Linked DNA regions of Homo sapiens: all the other regions are linked to region 2. The links are contacts of gene promoters, found by promoter capture Hi-C in blood cells and fetal thymus (Javierre and others, 2016). All regions are on one chromosome and are shown on one strand. Each heading gives the region's core, a stretch centred on a gene start or on the middle of the fragment in contact. The rest is flanking DNA. Distances are from core to core; before and after follow the strand shown. Region 1 has its middle 16 kb from the start of OPA1. Region 2 holds the start of MB21D2 (Mab-21 domain containing 2). Region 3 has its middle 6.0 kb from the start of ATP13A4. Region 4 overlaps ATP13A4 (ATPase 13A4). Region 5 overlaps ATP13A4 (ATPase 13A4). Region 6 overlaps OPA1 (OPA1 mitochondrial dynamin like GTPase).

What was found. Contacts are between HindIII fragments. The CHiCAGO score rates a contact against its expected background, and 5 or more counts as called.
Region 1: a contact is called between a fragment that was not itself captured here and the fragment with the promoter of MB21D2 in region 2, in 3 of 17 cell types (M1 macrophages, M0 macrophages and monocytes). The highest score is 7.8, in M1 macrophages.
Region 3: a fragment that was not itself captured here is called in contact with the fragment with the promoter of MB21D2 in region 2 in 3 of 17 cell types (M1 macrophages, M0 macrophages and endothelial precursors); the score reaches 8.4 in M1 macrophages.
Region 4: a contact is called between a fragment that was not itself captured here and the fragment with the promoter of MB21D2 in region 2, in 1 of 17 cell types (M0 macrophages). The highest score is 5.9, in M0 macrophages.
Region 5: a fragment that was not itself captured here is called in contact with the fragment with the promoter of MB21D2 in region 2 in 1 of 17 cell types (monocytes); the score reaches 5.9 in monocytes.
Region 6: a contact is called between a fragment that was not itself captured here and the fragment with the promoter of MB21D2 in region 2, in 3 of 17 cell types (M0 macrophages, monocytes and M1 macrophages). The highest score is 6.3, in M0 macrophages.

Annotation. Positions count from the first base shown.
Region 1 is chr3:193,575,951-193,579,203 of GRCh38, forward strand. It overlaps a transcript of ATP13A4 not described here and the pseudogene EEF1A1P23. Among named protein-coding and RNA genes, the nearest start is that of OPA1, 16 kb to the right of the region's middle. The HindIII fragment of the contact is 6,578 bases long and covers 1-3,253 here.
Region 2 is chr3:192,916,372-192,919,657 of GRCh38, forward strand. It overlaps MB21D2 (Mab-21 domain containing 2), which reads right to left and starts at 1,485. Exons shown (of 2, transcript NM_178496.4): 1 at 1,259-1,485. The coding sequence starts at 1,469. RefSeq lists an enhancer at 451-780 and a silencer at 1,431-1,790. The HindIII fragment of the contact is 3,892 bases long and covers 1-3,249 here.
Region 3 is chr3:193,559,079-193,562,617 of GRCh38, forward strand. It overlaps a transcript of ATP13A4 not described here. Among named protein-coding and RNA genes, the nearest start is that of ATP13A4, 6.0 kb to the left of the region's middle. The HindIII fragment of the contact is 2,084 bases long and covers 870-2,953 here.
Region 4 is chr3:193,457,825-193,461,187 of GRCh38, forward strand. ATP13A4 (ATPase 13A4) reads right to left here. Exons shown (of 30, transcript NM_032279.4): 14 at 1,257-1,407. Among named protein-coding and RNA genes, the nearest start is that of ATP13A5, 81 kb to the left of the region's middle. The HindIII fragment of the contact is 183 bases long and covers 1,223-1,405 here.
Region 5 is chr3:193,500,188-193,503,447 of GRCh38, forward strand. It overlaps ATP13A4 (ATPase 13A4), which reads right to left. Exons shown (of 30, transcript NM_032279.4): 3 at 2,306-2,452. Among named protein-coding and RNA genes, the nearest start is that of ATP13A4-AS1, 51 kb to the right of the region's middle. The HindIII fragment of the contact is 1,674 bases long and covers 1,010-2,683 here.
Region 6 is chr3:193,615,914-193,619,069 of GRCh38, forward strand. OPA1 (OPA1 mitochondrial dynamin like GTPase) reads left to right here. Exons shown (of 31, transcript NM_130837.3): 4 at 1,265-1,372; 5 at 1,871-1,924; 6 at 2,956-3,023. It overlaps OPA1-AS1 (OPA1 antisense RNA 1), which reads right to left. Exons shown (of 3, transcript NR_046634.1): 3 at 2,686-2,997. Among named protein-coding and RNA genes, the nearest start is that of OPA1-AS1, 9.8 kb to the right of the region's middle. The HindIII fragment of the contact is 5,969 bases long and covers 1-3,156 here.

The sequences.
Region 1 (3,253 bases), core at 359-2,858, 660 kb after region 2:
TGTCTTGACTGGGACGGGGACTGGGATGGGGCAGGGAAGAAGGACAGCAACTGGCACCAAGTGGGCAGAAGCCAGGGATGCTGTCAAGAATCCTGCAGTGCACAGGCTAGCCATCCGCAAGGAAGAATTTTCCAGCCTAAAATGTCAATAGTGCCAAGATTGAGGAATCCTGATTTAGAGGAAGCCAAAGATCTGAATCAAAGGTGTCCATGAGAGCCTAAGCCCCCTGCAGAATGTACAGGAATCTTGAAGAAGACATTAGACTTTCCACGATCCATGGAATGTGGCTTGAATCAATCTTTTTTTTTTTTTTTTTTTTTTTTTTTTTTTTTGAGACGGAGTCTCGCTCTGTCGCCCAGGCCGGACTGCGGACTGCAGTGGTGCAATCTCGGCTCACTGCAAGCTCCGCTTCCCGGGTTCACGCCATTCTCCTGCCTCAGCCTCCCGAGTAGCTGGGACTACAGGCGCCCGCCACCGCGCCCGGCTAATTTTTTGTATTTTTAGTAGAGACGGGGTTTCACCCTGTTAGCCAGGATGGTCTCGATCTCCTGACCTCATGATCCACCCGCCTCGGCCTCCCAGAGTGCTGGGATTACAGGCGTGAGCCACCGCGCCCGGCCTTGAATCAATCTTATGTAAATTATTGGGAAGAGGGTGATTCTAATTAACCTCTGGGTTACGGCATCAAATAAGAAAAACTAATCAGTTAAAGTTCTTAATTGCAAGTAACAGAAACTAACTCTGGGGAAATTGAGCAGAAAAGGAATGTATTAGGTAATACTGGGCAGCTCATAGAATCTCTGGAAGGGTTGAAGAACCCGACCTGGAGGCTAAGCAGAAAAAAACAACTCATAAAAGCATTCTACAGAATCGTCCATGAAGATATCGGTGCCTCCACCACTGGCACAGACACTGCTGGAATAAAGGAAGCCTGAATGTTCTAGCAATCAAGATAGAATGGATGCTTCCAAATAAGCAAAAAGAAGCAGGACCTCAAAGTTTCATTTTGAAAACATATAAATATCTTTCAGCCTTAACATGAGAGAGTGAAAACTCAGCCACGTAAGCTCAGAACCTCAGGGTCATTGTTGACTCCATAATAGTAATCCAAGTCAAAATACACTTGGATAAATACATTGCCCTCCTAAGAGGCCTCCTGGTTTTAGTCTTCCACCTATAACCAACACCACATCCACTGGTAGAGTAACTTCCTATTTGGATTATGGTGCTTTCCTTCAAAGAAGTTATGCATAAATTAGCTTTCAAAACAAATCCAAACATAATTTGACATCATTCAAAGCACTCTGTGATCTGTTCTGGACCTATATTCCAGTCGTCACTCCCACTACTTATCCAGGCAAATGATTTGCTTATTGAGCCCTAAGTATACTTGGCAAATGGTTTTCTTTCTTCTGCACCTTTACTCTTACCATTCTTTCTTCTGAGATGCCTTTTCACCTTCTCTTTATCTAAATCTCACATTCATCCTTTAAAATCCAGCTCAAAACTCACAGAACACCTAACAATACCACGAACCTACTTTGTGATCTTGAGAAAATGAATACATTGCTCTGAACTTATATAAGTACAAAATGGAACATTGTATTTTGTATTTGTATTACACAATGTATACAATTAACATTGCATTTGTACTACATTTTGCTGAAAACTTTTTATTAGGAAACCATACTGTCTACACTGTGCTATAGTGGAACTGGAAGCTCTAAACCTGTAGTCCTGAGGCACCAGGAGGGTGAGTGCAAGAGCACAGTCATTCTGGAGACTTCTTTGCTGATGAAGTAGGACTCATTTTCAAGTCCACCCTTTATCAAATAGATCTCTATGTTGCAATCTAACATACAGAAGACTGTATCTCATGATAACCTTTTCTTCCAGTGCTTTCAAACAGTGAGGCTTTATTAACACTTCCATGAAACAGTTCTGAAAATTAAAAACACTTCAATCTCTTTCATTCTCTCTGAATAGAGAATATGTTTTAATGGAGTAAATTCTCAACTTTCAGACTGCAAACTCAAGTGCATAATAAATATTGCATTTCTTGGGCTAGGTGCGGTGGCTCACTCTTATAATCCCAGCACTTGGGAGGCTGAGGCGGGTGGATCACTTGAGGTCAGGAGTTCAAGACCAGCCTGGCCAACATGGTGAAACCCTGTATCTACTAAAAATACAAAAAGTAGCCAGGTATGATGGTGTGTGCTGTAATCCCAACTACTCGGGAGGCTGAGGCAGGAGCATTACTTGAACCGAGGAGACGGAGGTTGCAGTGAGCCAAGATCACACCATTGCACTCTAGCCTGTGCAACAGAGTGAGACTCCATCTCAGAAATATCTATATCTATATCTATATCTATATCTATATCTATATCTATATCTATCTATCTATCTATTGCATTTATTTAAATAGACTTAATTTTAACTCTACACCTTCACTTAGTTGGTTTCTGGGAAGCAACTGCTGCCATTTTGGTGGTTCTCTCAGTATGAAAAATAAAATTAGGTCATTCTCCCATTATAGAGAGTGTGGTGATTCATTTTGTGTGTCAACTTGACTGGATTAAGAGACACCATGACAGTTGGTAAAGCATCACTTCTGGGTATATCCATGAGGATGTTTCTGAAAGAGACGGGTTTTTGAAGCAGTAACTGAGTAAGGGAGATTTGCCCTCACCCAGTGTGGGCATGCACCATCCAGTCACTGAGTTCCTGGACAGAACAAAAAGGGAGAGGAAAGGAACATACCCTCTGTCTGTCTGTCTGTCTGTCTCTCTCTCTTTCTTCCTCTCCCTCTTTCTCCTCCCAGGAGCTGGACACCCATCTTCTCCTATGCTTGGACATTAGAACTCCACATTCTCCCCATTCCAACCAGAAACTGACACAAATACTATTGTGGCTGGGTTGTAGCCAGTTTTCTTAATGTACATGCTGATTTCCTTAATTATTTCCTCCTATCTCTTCTGACTGTAGGATGGCTCAGTGGAATCCATTTTGTCAACTCCAACAATTAGTTTTTTCACACCCTGTGTGTAAGGCAGAAGGGCATGATCACAGGTCTGTCCGGTTTTGGAGATACCAGCTTCAAAGTTGCCAACACCAGCAGCAATAATCAGGACAACACAGCCCACCTGATATGTCCCTGTAATCACGTTTTTGATAAAGTCTCTGTGGCCTAAGGCAACAGCGATAGTCACTTGCTGGTCTCAAATTTCCAAACAGAGGTATCAATGGTGAGTAA
Region 2 (3,286 bases), core at 235-2,734:
ATAGAAGCAGCAACAGCCGGCTGAAACCCAATTAGATTGCAGGAGAAAGAGAAAAGCCCTGTCTTAGTCTGTGGCCAAAAGACCTTTCCCAATCAAATTTTTCAACACCTGGAAAATTGGCTTATCTATTTGTAGAGAGCACCCAGAGACGAGCGTTAGAGCAGCGCTACCCTGGAGTACCAGTTCTTCGGAATGTTGACCGCCGGCCACGCACCGCTTGACAGCCACGGATCCGCTGGCGGAGCCGCAAGTTACAACCCAGGCGCCTGGCAAACTCACACTACACCTCAGTAGCAATAATCCCAACGGCAGGACACCTGGGGAGGGTGGGCTCGGTCTCCCGGGCCTGGCTCAATTATGTTCCTTTACACAGCATTCAATCATGTTTCAGGAGCCGTAGGTGAGGGGCTGGAGGTGGGAGTGGGGGACACATTTTCTAGCCCCCGACGTCTCCGCGGTTGGAAACTCTGGGCACCTCTTTCGGCCAGCGCTAAGACAATACACAAAGAGCAGGGAACCGGCGCTCCTCTGCGGCCAGAGCTCCGCGCCTAGTCACGGAAGAGCTGGGAATTAAGAATTCCGAGCTCAGCGAGAGCCCTGAAGAAGCACCGGAAATGCTTCCGATCGCTTCATAAGAGAAGTCAATTTGCAAATCAAAGTTGCAGGAACTCCGGACGCCTAGACTACTTCAGCGGGTTACTCGGGAACACCCAACAAGTTTGGCCACCGGGGGCTCGGCATGACAGCGCCGCGCCGCGAGACGACAGAAGCAACTTGTCGCTCGGGCGCCAAGCCAGAGCCCTGAGCCGTCTCCGCTCCCAAGCTCGGGAGAGCACCCAAGAGCCGGCGTCGGGAAAGCGGAGGTCCCTGCCTCCGGCAGCCAAATCCCTCAACTGAAGGCACCTCAGGGGCTCACCTGGACTGCACTCGCTTCCAGGGGCTTCCCCCAACAGTGCAACGCTTCACCGCGAACGCCTCACCTGCCTGCCAGCCCCAGGTGGCGGAGAAATTAACAAAAGAGCAAGCGAACAGGGGGAAAGGGAGACCCGGCGTAAAGTATAGTAAGGAGGGGAGGGCAGGCAGCTCGGCTTTCGGCGGAGAAAGAAGAGAGAGGCGGAACAGAGATGGCTTATACCCAAGGCACCGGCTCGGGAAGGCAACCCAGAAGGGAAGAGGTCGAGAAGCGGCAATGGGTTTTCTACTCCGCTTCCCATCACACACACACACGCACACACACCTCCCCCTTTTTCCTCCTTACCCAGCATGGAAAAGATGAAATCCTTGGCTGTGTGAATCTCCAGCGCTCTCTGGTCGTCGTATTCCCGCTGGTCGTGCTTCGTAAATTCTTGGATGAGTTTGTTCAATTCCTCCACCCGAGCTCCCGACCTGAAATCCAGCTCCGGGAACGCAGGCTTGTTGTTACAGCCCAGGGAGGCTGCCTTGTTGGCGGTGGGAGCCGCCATCTTCATGCAAAACGCGCCGAGTAGCAGCTCCGCGGCAGCGCGGCACCCACCCCCGCCCCCCACCCCGCCCCCCTGGGCCTCCTCCCCTCGCAGGCTCCCAGGCTTTGGCCCCGGCTCGTGGGCGGGTTGGCGGGCGGGCGTCTGGGCGGGCAGTCCCCCGCTCCGTGCGCTCTGGGCGTGCGAGCTTCGGGAGGAGCTGGACTGCAGCGAGGGTGCGTGTGTGGCCCCGACACCCTTTTCTCCGGCCCCACGCCCGCCCCGATGCTGCGCGTCCCTGCCCTGCCCTGGCCCTCTCTGGCAGCGGCAACGGCGGTCGTAGAGCCAACTGGAGCCTCCCCCGGGCGAGGAAAGTGAAGTGGAAACAATGTGAAATTCACCAGCTCTGAAATCAACAAGCTGCCGGCTCCGGTGTTACGGAGCCAGCACCAGCGTCTCCATTTAAAGGGACAGCGCACCCAGTGGAAAGGAAAATAAATAAATGACAGAGGTCTGCACGCATATACCACTTGCCAATCCGTACTTGGGAAGACGCGCGAGGTGTGGATGCATTCTTTCTCCACCTCCACGGCCGTCCCCCCATCCCCTTTCTGGGCAGGGTTTGCCAAGCGCATTCAAGGAGAAGAAAGTCTTCCTCCGTTTGATTTTAAGGGCGGTGTCCTGGGGGAGGACATCTCTGTGCGCGTTTACCTCTCTATCCCAAGAACTCCAATACCTTTAAATAGTAAAGGAAACTGCCTTAAGGAATATGAAACCTGTCTTCTACCCTTTTCCTCTTGGATTGCCAAGATGATAGGATTGAGCGTATAAAAAAAGAGGGTCCACATCTAACCCAGTATTGGCACTCCCACTAACCCCTAGATATCCCTACCTTTGCCCAAGGTAATTAATGACCTGAATAACAGCTTATTTATCTTAACATATAATGAGTTAATGAGATTCAACCTACTCTAATATAAAGATAGGGAAACTGAAGTGTGGGTGTGGGAGAGGGGAAACAATGTATTGCCCCAGGTTCCAAGAAATGTTGGATGACAAGATGAAAATTTTCTCATTCAACAGATAAAATTTGAGTACGCACCATTTGCCAGATGGAGTGACAGAATGTGACAGTGATAACCAAAAGACATGGCTCCTACCATGGAGTTAGGCTTACATGACAAGGCAGGTTCAATCTAAGTCATAGTCCTTTAGGCAGAATAGAGTCTCAGAGGTGGTTTTAGTGTTTATGGGGTGTATCATTCAAACACTTAGGAGGCCCATTGGCTGTGAGAAACATAGGTTATCTTCCTCCCTAATTCTCCAAAATCTCTCTTCTCTATCCCACAGTCCCTGATTTAGATCAGGTCTGTTTCACTTTCTTACCCGAGTTCTCATGGCCAAGAATACAAATTGTTTTGTTAGACATGGAAGGAAGTACGGACTCTTCCATGCCTTCCCCTATAAAATGGGAATAATAATTCCTGTCTCACAGGTTGTTTTAAGGATTACGTGAGATAAAACAGGTCAAGCACTTAGTTCAAGGACTGACATAATAAGTACTTAGCTATTATCAGCTTCTACTATTATTGTTATTAATTCTTTCACTGTTCCTCAATCTAGTAACAACTTGTTGCCAGAGTGATCTTTAGAAAACACAGACCTGACCACTGACCTCCCCCTGGAATTCCTCTCTTCTTTACTCCGTTTACACCAAAACCAATCCGCGTCTGCCTTTTTCTTACAGCTTTCCGGAGACCCTCCCCTCAAGCTGGTGGCAACTTTTCCTTCCTCAGAACCTACTCTCAGAAGCTTTCATATGATGCTAATGAATTTTGACCTTGCTT
Region 3 (3,539 bases), core at 662-3,161, 640 kb after region 2:
CTGGCCCATTTAGGTTTTGTGATGATAAATGGTAATAATGTTTCATTATATGTTAATTTCCATCTTTCATCTGAGAACTCACAGCATATTACAAATATTGTTTTTTGCAACATCTCTGTGAAGTAGGGAGGTGAGTAGTATCATTGCTCCCATTTGAAAGCTGTAGGAACTGAGTCATAAAGAGGTCACAAAGAGCTGTTCAAGGTCATGTGTCTTTACCATGGAGAGGAACCTGAAACAAGTGCAATATCTCTGCCTTGTCATCACTGGCAATAAGCTGACTCAGTCTTCCTCCTCAGCCCTCATTACACAAATCTGCTATTTGTAAAGTACTTGAGACCTTTAGTTATAGAACTTTATCTAAACTCAAGGCTTTACCTTTAGTATTAATTATCCTAATCTGCTCTAAAATAGTCTGTGGTAGCAAGCAAAGATGCCATATCCCAAAGAGGAATTACCTGCCTCAAGGTGGTGGTGCAAAGTCTAATTGAATTAATTAATGTTTGTAAAACATTTAGCAACCCTTAGATTAAAGGGTCTAATACAAAGATCCAGGGACTCCCCATTAATTACAGAAGAAAAGAGCAGGCTGATGCTGTCTCTGCTTCTCAGAGGACTTGCTCTCAAATATCCCCGTTCAGCACCAGGTCTGTTCTCCCAGTGCCTTGGGGTGGCCTGTTGTTTCCCTTTCAGAAGAGTCCTCTTTGCTTTCTGTTATTTCCAAAAATAGGAAATTAAAAGCTGCTCTCTGGAGGTAAGGCAGCTCCCCTTCTGTGAAGCTTACCTCAGTTGACAGCTGTTATAACAATTCCAGGTCATTAAGGACAACCTATAAAAACAAAATCCAAAAGAGATGGTCCCCAGGCAGAAGCTTCATGTCAGTGTACTTAATTTTGAGAACTTTTAACCTAAAAATTTGAATATACAAAACAATACAAGTTATGGTGCTATTATTAACAATCAGAGACTATTAGACTGGGCCTTAGAAATTACTAAGTTACTTTCATTGTTTCTTCGGTGAGAAAAAAGTTACTGGATGACTGTGTAACGATTTGTCCAAGATCACAATCTGCGAAAGCTAAAACTCTCAAGTCTTATATATGATATACTTCACACAACATCATATTGCTACTCACTTTTTTTTTTTTGAGACAGGGTCTCGCTCTGTCACCCAGACTGGAGTGCAGAGGTGCAATCATGGTTCACTGCACCCTCAATCTCATAGGCCCAAGGGATCCTGCCACCTCAGCCTCTCAAGCAGTTGGGACTACAGGCAAGAGCCACCATGCCCAACTAATTTTTGTTCTTGTTTTTTGTAAAGACAAAAAACATGTTGCCCAGGCTGGTCTTGAACCCTGAGCAAAAGCCATCCACCCACCTCTGTCTCCCAAAGTGCTGGGATGACAGGTGTCAGCCACCATGCCCGGCTGCTACTCACTTTTTGTAAAGGGATTAGAATAGGATACTTTGAAACAGTATCTCTAGAATATTTACGAGGACTTCATTTGCCAAGCATAGATTTCAATAGAACTTTTCCAGAACCCACCAATTGTGTAAAGCCATGGCCATATCACTGAATTGTACAGCACATCCCATTACTTAGGCATGATCCAGAGGGCTTAGGACATAGCATTGGGCCCACCCACTGGGGTGAAAATCTGTGCTTGGGGAGCTGATGACACTGCAGGTGCTTGCAAAGGAAATTTAATCTACCAGGCAATTGAAGCTCACAGCAATTTCTGCTTACAGCTCAGGGGAGCAGTTGGCCAAGGGGGAAAGAGAGAAAGGCCATAAGACAGAAGCAGAAATGTTCCCAACAAGCAGTTAGAGTCCAGCCATGGGGCAGGTGATACTTGGAAATCCAGACAGGAAGCTGGCTCCATGGAGTCTGTCCTCTAGTGGCTAAGCTCCAATCAGAAACCTCGGGCCTGAGGCAGCGTTCCAATTCCGAGTGGGAGCCTGGCATGGGAAAGGCTTCTTCACTCCTAGGAAAAATCTGGGGCTCAAGACAGGCTGCCAGGCAGGAACTTAGGAACAGTAGTACCCACAGGGGACCTCAGGCTTGGGAATGAGGCAAGAGCCCAATTAACAGAATCAGGGCACTGCCTCTGGGCAGACTAACCAAGAGTGTGGCTGGGTGCTGAGCTGCAGAGAGCAACGCTGGGCTGGATTCAGTGCCCTTGCTGTGGGCCTGGGATGACCCAGGAACTGGGCTGAGGCCCCTGGGGAAAATCAAGAACAGGTTCCTGGTGCAGATGAAGAAAGCGGCAAGGCTGGGGCTCCACTGGGCCTCTCTGCTTGCCATTCTTCCAAAAGTCCACTTAGGATTATTTATGCTGGTTACCTCTTTCATCAGCAAGTAAGATGCTCCACAAAAGGGAGGAGACTCTCAAGTGGATCAATCAATGATATTTTGAGAGAGGGGTGAAACTGAAATTAATGACAAAAGAAATTCAGAGCTCTTATTTGTGTACTGTACATGTCGTTCAGTGTCCTAAGCAAACTGGTAATGGGAAATGTTATTTACTAATGGAAAAAGGAAAGTAATAAGATAGAACTAATGCACCTCCTAGTACTCAGACCCTCTCCCAGTTAGTGTGGCATCAGAGGGGATCTCTGAGGTTTCTCAGCTCTCCCACAGTCCATCAACCCTGCCAAAGCACTTCAAATAAGCAATCTTAATAAAACTGTGCTTACCATGCAAATGTAACTTTAAAATAAGCCCCCCAGCTTCCAATCTAATCTCTGTCCCAATGGAGGTCTTTGGGGGCTGTCACTGTCTTTTCACATGCCTCTTTTTTACACACCCCTATGAAACACGCAACCGGACTACCTATGTCTACCATGGGATCATCACTGTACTTCTCCCTCCGCGGGAAATGGAGTCCAATCCTCTCCTCCTTTCATCCAGCCTTTCTCTGGCACCAGGGAGCTTTGCTGTTGGCTAGCTGCAAGCTTTGTTGGTTGCTCTGTTTGTTCATATCTCATTGACCCCAGAGTACATGGCAGAGAATAGCAGTAGTTCCTCACCAGTGGTGTGTGTCAGTCACCCTGGAAGCTCTCCTGGACCCCACATACTCTGGTCCCGGAGAGCTACCAAACCCAGACCTAGCAAACCTGAATCCCTGGGGTGGAAACAAACAAACAAAAAAAAACTACATTTTGATGAGTGTGGGTTATGTTGTACTTATACTACTTTAAAAATAAAAAGGAAAATAAAAGAATAAAGTAGATCTATTGTCATAGCAAGATGTCCACGATACATTAACTGCAAGTTGTTATAGAATGCTATTATTATATGATTAAATGCACTATATTATTAAATGCATTCATCAGGCATTTTTGTAAAAATGGGAAATATCTGTGTGTGCGATGTAATATATAGGTGGATATTTAAACAAAAGAGTCCATAGACTAGGGATTTTAGCCACTGTTCCCTGTTCTCCTTGCCATTTGCCTCCCAGGCCCTAGATACAGTGAAACCAATTTCAAATATAGAATCATACTGGTCAGCTGGGTGCAGTGGCTCAAGCCTGTAA
Region 4 (3,363 bases), core at 64-2,563, 540 kb after region 2:
TGCACTTCACGGCTCTTCCTGCCCTTGCATGTGTGTCTAATTTGGATGGATGGTTCTCAGGGCTGGGGTAGGGCAGGGCAGAGACTGTGATATACATGGTTAATAATCAGTAATTGCTATAATAATGACCCTAAATTATAGTCAAAGGGACCTTTTACCCAAAGACAACACAGTGCTTTGTAATCATCTCACTGAGTGGCTGACAAGGTCCCAGAGAGAAAACTGCAATCCCTATTTAAAGATATGGAATCAGTAACCCAGAAAAGATGGAGGATTGGCAAAGTTATATTAGATTGCTATGAAATAATGCTCCAGGAGATTTGGAAGGGACCCTGAAGATTGTCTCTTTCAGTGGTGCTCAAAGTGTGCCACCAGAGGCGAGAGCTATATGCAGCTCAGGAGAAAGGAAGGGATTATAGCTAAGTAGTCAGGGATGCAGGTCCCTTAGTCCTCATCTTTAGATCCCACCTTTTATTTCAACTGGAGTAACTCCAGCTATTTAGTCTTTAGAGTGTTTCTGGAGAACGTTTCCTTTTACGAGAAGATTCCAGATTGTTTGTCTTGTTTTGTGTTATGTGAACACCACTGGTCTAATTCAACTTCATTTTATGGTCATGAGAGCCAAAGCCCCAACATGAGAGATAGCTTAATGGGATTCAGCAGTCAGTTAGAGCAGAGACAAAACTAGAATCGGAAAAGCCAGATTCCTGAACGACACTGTTGGCTCTTAAATCTAGTTTAGAGTCTCAACAAAAGCTCTTTAGTGGTTTTCCTTTTTGTTCTTTCTAGTCTTGGAAATAAAATCAATATGAAATTAATAGAAATAAGACTTATAGTCCCCGTGAATCTATGAGTTATCCTGAGCACTGGAGAAAGCAATGTTTTCTGATCCCCATATTCTGGAAAATCTTCGAAACCAGACAATGCTCGGAGAACAGTACAGAGAGACAAGAAATAACTGCATAATAAGTACAATTATATTAATATGATCGAACCTTTAATATTTGCCAGGCATAGTGCCAAGGATTTTCTTACTGCATCATCTCATTTAATCCTCACAATCTCATTATGTAGATGCTATTATTAGCTTCATTGCACAGATGAGGAAACCAGCCTTAGATTGGTTTGCCCTTCACTACCAAATGTACTCCACATTGGAAACCTCACCTTTTATAAGAATTAGATAGCTCTGATATTGCCTATGTTGCTCTGGCATTGAAGAAGCTTCTCAGATTCTCTGAAGAGCAGAGGCTTACCCAGGTGGTGGCTTCAAACATTTTGAGGTCCAGAGGGTCTCCCTGGATGGTCCCATCAAGAAGGATCAGAGAGTGGCAGCTGGCCATCGCTGCACACAGTGGGCCCCATGGCAAAGCCTGGCCTGAGGCAAAGCTGTGAACTTCCTGAAAGCTTAAGGAGAAAAGGAAATGGGTTTCCATTCCATCGCCTCATGCCAAAACAGAGCATCTTGGAGGTGAACAAACATCTTTATAAAAAAATAATTTAATATGCTTTGTTGCATTAATAGCCACTCTCCAATCCTCCCACATTAATAGTGCTTCATTCAGCCAAGTAAGTTCACTGAGTATGAGAAAGGTCTCTGAGTTTTTTCTTTTTCTTTTGGATACAGGGTCTCACTCTATCACTCTGTCACCCAGGCTGGAGGAGGACAGTGGCGTGATCTCGATTCATTGCAACCTCTGCCTCCCAGGTTCTAGCGATTCTCCTGCCTCAGCCTCCTGAATAGCTGGAATTACAGGCAGCCACCACCATGTCAGGCTAATTTTTTGTATTTTTAGCAAGGATGGGGTTTCACCATGTTGGCCAGGCTGGTCTTGAACTCCCAACCTCAGCTAACCCACCTGCGTCGGCCTCCCAAAATGGTGGGATTACAGGCGTGAGCCACTGTGCCCGGCTAAAAACATTTTTCAAATGAACACTGCATCCCCCTCTTCCACCCTGGCCTCTTGTGTCCATATCCCAACCATTATCCCCATCATCTCATTTTAGATAAGAACATAGTCTCATCTAAAAAGCTATTAAAATACAACTCAAATGTCATATGCAGGCTTCCTTCACTAATTCAGAGTGGAGGCCATTAAGTTCAGCTTTGGCGTCACAAGAAGAATGTTGTCTGCAGCTTGGTTAGTCACAGCCCCTTCTCAAATGTGCAGCACAGGCGTTGGTTCTCAAAGCAGCTTACCCTATTAGGAGGACGTTTGAACGGTGGAAGCTTCATCCTACATTGGGGCAGAATCTGCTCCTGGGAGCCAGTAAGGGTCCACTTGCTCCCCCTCCTCCACATGCCAACTTCTTTCAAACTTAGGGATCAACTCTGCCGTCCCCTTCACCCTCTCTCCCTCTGGTGTCGCACAGGAACCTCCGGCTGTTCCTCTAATAACAGCTTGATCAGGCCTCCCTCTCACCTTCCTTATTCTTCTTTTTTGGAAAAGTTCCTAAATTTGTCATTGTCTGATCCTGGAGACCACATTTCAAGACAGACAATTACTTCTGATAATATGGACCCTGAATTTATTTAAAGATAACCTTAAGTTGCTGTAGCCCTTTGTTTTGAAAGCAAACACATCTCAGTGTTAACTCACAATTCAGCCACATGGCTTCCTGGCTTTTGCATTCAAGCTTCCTTTTGTCACACTAAGAGTTCAAAAATGTCCTGGCTTCATATTGACCCTGTTAGTTATACTTATTACTATGTCTTAAAAGAGCAGCTCATCTTGGTGGTTTACCACATACCCAATGGTATTTTAGTAAATATCTAAAAGGAAGAGACCACCAGCAGGACAGTTAACACAGAAACTTAAACGCACACTGAAAAGCAAAATACAGATCAGAAAAAAAATCTTATTTTTACTATGAGACGTACACTGTCACTAGTCCGTAATTCTGAGTGTATAATTCTGCATTCGAGAGGATTGGGCCAGACTCTGTTTAGCACAGCAAATACATAAAGCTCTCTATCATTCCTGTCCACCCATTTTTATCTGAGTATTTCTGGTTATCAATCCCTGATAGCCTTTAATAGTTCTTAAAGTATCTGACACAACAATCAGGGCTTTTTGGAAAGGAAGAAATATCAGAGATGAGCTCACCTTTAACAAGAAGGTATTGAATAGTCTATAAGTCAGGTGCTCACTTCTTACCTAGAATTAATTCTGTTTTGTTTCATTTTATTAATTAAATTTGTCATTTTTTATTTTAAATTGTTTTAATCATTGGAATTCAACTTTGATTGGAAGGCAGGAAGGCAGCAAGGCAGGAAGGAAGGAAGGAAGGAAGGGAGGGAAATGAATCATTTACCTAAACATTATATTAATTGTTATTCCTTAAATGTAACAAGTCACTTTT
Region 5 (3,260 bases), core at 597-3,096, 580 kb after region 2:
TCTGCTGCGGGGTGAATTTCATCTTTCTGCTCAGGAATAAGGAAGATTTCCTCTCCCCGGGCTTTCTGCTTGTAATTTCTTGTTAGAACATGTTATAAGAGCATCCTGTTTAACAAGTTAAGCACTGGGTGTTAGCTTTGCCTGTAATCCTGCAAGATGGTCCTTAGCATCTCCTCTTAGCCTGTTTCCAAACCTGACATAGTTCTTTGCTGTAGTCTTCAGACTTCCTTTAAACCAGCGATCTCCAACCTTTTTTGGCACCAAGGACCGGTTTTGTGGAAGAGAATTTTTTCACGAATCTTGGGGATGCGGTGATGGTTTCGGATCATCAGGCAATCATTAGATTCTCATAAGGAGCACCGTAACCTAGATCCCTCACATGCGCAGTTCACAATATTAAGGATTTCACTCCTATGAGAATCTCATGCTGCTGCTGACCTGACAGGAGGCAGAACTCAGGAGGTAATGCTCGCCGGCTTGCCAGCAGCTCACCTCCTGCTGTGTGGCCTGGTTCCTAACAGGCCATGGACAGGGCACCAATCGGTGGCCTGGGGATTGGGGACCCCTCCTTTAAATGCCCCTAAATGGTTACCCTCTTGGTAATGCTGTTATTGTCATCAAGGCTGAGCCCATGACAGCTCCTCTGACTTTAAGGAAAGTTTTGTTACTAGCATAGCTCATTGAAGTTCACAAATGACCTTAATATCCATCGTCTCATTGTGTGTTCATAACAGCCCTGAGAAAGGCAAAGAAGGGGTATTACTTTTATTTTATAAATAAGAAACTCAAGACCAGAGAGGCAGTAACTAACCAAACTGCCTATGCCGTAGCTGGTAAATGAAGATAGTACACCTATCACAACTTTCCATTTCAAGACCTCTGCCCCTCCTACAATTCTGTGTGTTGACTTGGCCATTTCTTCATTTATCTGTCCACTTATTTATTTGATGCTACTAAAGATGCTAGAATTTCAGAGCAATAAAACTATGAGAACATAGGCTATCTGGGAAGCTTATTTCTCCAGGTGAATGGACATCTAACAGATTAGGGAAACTATTATTTGGAGGTACTTGACCTCCTTTGTTTTTGTTTATTTGGGCAGCTAAGACAGCTGAGTGGGTGGGGTGCAGTGGCACACCCCTATAATCCCAGCACTTTGGGAGGCTGAGGTTGGTGGATCACCTGAGGTCAGGAGTTCAAGACCAGCCTGGCCAACATGGTGAAATTCCGTCTCTACTGAAAACACAAAAATTAGCTGGGTGTGGTAGCAGGTGCCTGTATTCCCAGCTACTTTGGAGGCTGAGGCAGGAGAATTGCTTGAACCCGGGAGGTGGAGGTTGCAGTGAGCCAAGACAGCGCCATTGCACTCCACCCTGGGCAACAAGAGTGAAACTCCATTTAAAAAAAAAAAAAAAAAGACAACTGGGTGATAACAATTGACAATAGGAAAATTGCTCATAATTTACTTTATTACTTTAAATAACTGAACTTGAGCTCATAAAACTAATTTAAACAGCTGACCACACATACATAAATGTAAGACAAAACATTCTGTCTTATAAAATGTTTTTAATATGAATGTTAACTAGTCATAATCCAAGCAGAACTAATTTAATAGGGTGAAGAGGGAGCAACCCAAATACATTTGAATGACAAGAATTCAAATAAGGTCATTTTTGTAGGCATAAGCAAACCTCCTGGGATATTCCTGGGTGATTACTTTTACTATAAGATTAACCCTGTTACATAGATTGTAATATGGGGAACGATACTATTAGAGCTAATATGTAAGAGCTGGGCTGGGCGGTACATGCCTGCAATCCCAGCTACTAGGGAGGCTGAGGCAGGAGGATCACTTGAGCCCAGGAGTTTGAGGCTGTAGTGTATTATAATCATGCACCTGTGAATAGCCACTGCACTCCAGCCTGGGCAACATAGTGAGATCCTACCTCTAACAAAAGGAAAAGAAAATAGAGCGAGTATGTATTGAGCATCTGCTATATACCTGGAACTACTTTAATCTTTGTATTTCTAAATTTATTGAATTTTATCAATTAATATTAGAAATAGACATTATTATCATCATTTTGTAGATGAGAAAACAGGCTCAGCAGAGTTAAGATCAATGGTTGCGCTATTTAGAAGGAGCAAGCTGAGATTTGGACTGTCTGGCTCCAAAGTTCACATTTTAAATATACACTATCAAATGAGGATTGGCACAGTAGAGGAGCTACATTTAACTATATACTTGAGGGGAAAAAGATTAAATCTCTCTGACATCAGCAGTAGCCATAAGTTTACTTACCTTTAGGTCTGGCTTTCTTATGGCTCTATTTATGATATACTCCTCATCTGTCATGAGAGGGTGGTCAGGAGTGAGACCAAATGCGCTGTTTAATGCTGACAGGTAGATCCATATTACCTTTTTCCAAGAGTAAATTTGGAATTCATCCTGAGGAGATAGACATCAAAACCCCCAAGAAGTTAAGAGAGGTCAGCAGGCTACAATTCAACCTGAGAAACATCATTTTAATATAATTCTGTAAGTGTTTGGCGTTAGTGAATATTCTAGACAGAACGGTTTGTCTCTGAAAGATGATGGATCTAGAACCTTGAGGGAAAAAGACCTGTCATCACTGACTGAGGAATCTGGATATGAAGATGAGGCACTGACACATAACAAAGCTTGAGAATCAGGAGGCTCATTCGCAGGTAAGAACTAGTTCACTGCATCACCTTTCAACCACCTTTCAGCCCATGACCTGATGACCATCCCCATCTTTCAAGGCTTAACTCAAATTCCACCTCCTACAGAACAGCCTCATTAACACCCTTCCACCGGGGCGGGGCAGGGGGGGGAACTATCACTTTGTTAACTCCAAAAAAATGTTAAGTGTCCCTCTCTTGTGCTCTTAATCACTTTTTCTAGTCCTTCTAGACTACCTGGAATGCAGGGATCACGTTTTATTGTTCCTTATCTCCCATTCATGTGGAGCACTGAGACCTGCTCAGTCAGAGTCTGAAGAATGGAAGAAAAAAACTGAATCCATGGACTGAACCTGCCCAAGGTAATTGCCAAGATGTTAGCACAGGTGGGGTTGAAGAAGGCACCTTATTGCATGACCCTAATTAAAATTGCTTCCATTTGCAGTTCACTGATTACTTCACACAGAGTAAAATTAGAGGGAGAAGCACAGGATTGAGAAACAGATACCACAATGGTCCCTTAGAGACCTATTTGACAGTGGTTATTGTCTGAA
Region 6 (3,156 bases), core at 657-3,156, 700 kb after region 2:
TCTGTATAAAAGAAATACCCAGTAGCCCATAATTTTACCACAGCTGCCACTAACTGTTTGGAGCATTTTCTTTTAATTATACTTACTATATGTGGTTAGTATCTTTTTAACTTATCGATTGAGACAGGATCTTGCTCTGTCACTCAGGCTGAAGTGCGGTCTTGGAATCATAACTCACTGCAGCCCTGAACTGGCTAAAGTAGTCCTTCCGACTCTGCCTCCCAAGTAGCCGGGACTACATGTGTGTGCCACCATGCCCGACTGATTTTTTAATTTCTTGTAGAGATGAAGTCTCACTATGTTGCCCAGGCTAGTCTCAAATTCCTTAGCTCAAACCTCTCACCTCAGCCTCTCAAAGCACTGAGATTACAAGTGTGAGCCACTATGCCTGGCTTGAGTTTTTTTCTTTTAATTTTTTTCTTTTCATGAATACTACCACAGAATAGTATTTTAGTTCCCTTTTTAAAAATTATGTAATCATGGTGAATATTCACTTTGGTATTTTGTCTTTTGCTACCTAACATATTTTGTCAGCATTTCCATGCTGCCAAGTAGCCTTTCTATTAATAATATCATTTTCTGCATTATGTAATGTTGCCCAGAGCATATTTATTGTGACCCACCTAGCTAGCTCCTTTTGATTGGATACCTTGGTTATCTCTACCTTTTGTAGCCAAGTTCTTTAAAAGTCTGTTAGTATCCAGGGTAATTTCTTTTCTTAGTTGGCCACTGCCCTCCCTTTTTCAATAGGTGGATGAGAAAAAAGTATATTGGATCGCTATGATTGCCAGTAATTCATGGTGATCTTTAAGAAATATATTTTCATCAAATTTTTTTAAAACCTTTGTCAGATTTCTTAGTTTAGGTGTATGTGGAGGTGGAATTAATCTATACTTGCACTTATTCACAGAATTTATAAAGATAAAACTGTTCTATGTTGACGAATCCATTTGCAAAAAAAGCACACTTTCAAATTGTTCTTCTAATATTAATGAGGAGAGCTTTCAAATTGATGTATTTGCCAGTACCACAGCGTAGTGGCTGAGAGCCTGTATTCTGGAGCTGGACTGCCTGGGCTGGAACCCGGGCTCCTCCACTTCCTTGCTGTGTACCTTAGTTTCTCATCTGTAAATGGTGTTGATAATAGTAGCTGTTTTGTAGGGTTGTCATGAGGATTAAACAAGTTAATACTTTAGCCCTTTATAAGAATAGTATCTGACATATTTTCTTAGTTTCATACTCTATATGTTTTGATCTTTTCCAGAGAAAATTAGAAAAGCCCTTCCTAGTTCAGAAGACCTTGTAAAGTTAGCACCAGACTTTGACAAGATTGTTGAAAGCCTTAGCTTATTGAAGGACTTTTTTACCTCAGGTAAGGAAGAAGCTGTTTGATCTAATTTAAAAATTTAAGAACCATGGAGGAAAAATACATGGATTATTTGTTTATTCCCATTTTTTTAAAATTAAAATATTTAGTACCAATGAAAAACAGGACATTTTTTAAAAAGATAAACACAAAGTTTTGTTACACAATGGTTTTAATCTTTGTGTAGCCCAGTAAAATGACAGTTCCTAAGCACTTAAACATACTTGGCTTTTAGTGAGGGGAAAAAATGTATCACTTGTTCTTGACAAGTAGATGAGACTTCCTATGTATTTGCTTTTCATAAGTGGTTGGACCAATTTGGTGGTTTTAAAACAAATTTAAGTATGATAGACCATAATGAGTAGCATTTATTAAGTTTAATCCTGGCATATTTGCCCAATTATTGCCCTATCGTAATATGAAATCTGAGATCTCAGACATCTTTGTTTGCTCATTTCTGTTAAATTTTACATTTCTATTTCCCCTTTTGCTGATTTTTCACAGGTCACAAATTGGTTAGTGAAGTCATAGGAGCTTCTGACCTACTTCTCTTGTTAGGTGTGTAAACAGACATTTTTGCTGACCTTAACATGCCTTTTAAATGCTTCTAATAAACTAGTTGCAAATAAAATTGCAGACCAAATTTATAATGCTGCTTATGCTGAATTTTAAAACCCCAGAACTATATTAGGCAAACTCATTATCCTTTAGGTGGAAATAATAAAATAATTATTTTGTGATAACACTAAAATTCTTAAATATGTATGTGTATTATAAGATTAAAGCTATTAAAAGAAAATTTACTTAGCAAAAATATTTTCTTGAAATAGATCTAATTGTTTTTGATAATTGAAATGAAAAGTAATTTTAGTTTGTCTCATCTGCCCTGTCATGGTTGACATTTAAATTTGTTTTCCGGCCGGGCGCGGTGGCTCATGCCTGTAATCCCAGCATTTTGGGAGGCCAAGGCAGGCGGATCATGAGGTCAGGAGATCGAGACCATCCTGGCTAACACGGTGAAACCCCATCTCTACTAAAAATACAAAAAATTTGCCGGGCGTGGTGGCACACGCCTGTAGTCCTAGCTACTCGGGAGGCTGAGGCAGGAGAATTGCTTGAACCCAGGAGGCGGAGGTTGCAGTGAGCCAAGATCGCGCCACTGCACTCCAGCCTGGGCGACAGAGGGAGACTCTGCCCCCCACCCCCAAAAAAAAAAAGAAAAGAAAAAAAAATTGTTTTCCTGCTATACATGGTCTGTAATGCCAGTGGTATGTGGCTGAACTGTAAGTACTCTCATGTAAAATAATCCTTACCAAAGATTGTCTTATTTTTTTATTGTAATTTTCAGTTATATATTTTTAATTGTTAGGTTAAACATATGCTGCGATTGCTATAGTTAGTTTTTTTTTTATTTTCTGCACAGGTTATCAGTCATGTTCCTTAAAATAAGAATAAAGGCGATTTGATTCTTTGAATCTGAGTTGCTCTAAAAATCCATTCACCTTTTCATTGACTCGATGTAATTTGAAATTCAGCTTAGGCTGTTGACATCACTGGAGAATGTAAAGGGTTGCATATTTATCTTTAAGGTTCTCCGGAAGAAACGGCGTTTAGAGCAACAGATCGTGGATCTGAAAGTGACAAGCATTTTAGAAAGGTAAGTGTAAAAGAGAATTGTTCATGTAGGTAGTCTTGAAAGATTTTTTAAAGTTTTTACTTCTTTGGAAGATTTTAAAATGATAACATCTGAGAAGCAAATACAAAAACATCCAAGTAGAGATATCGTTACT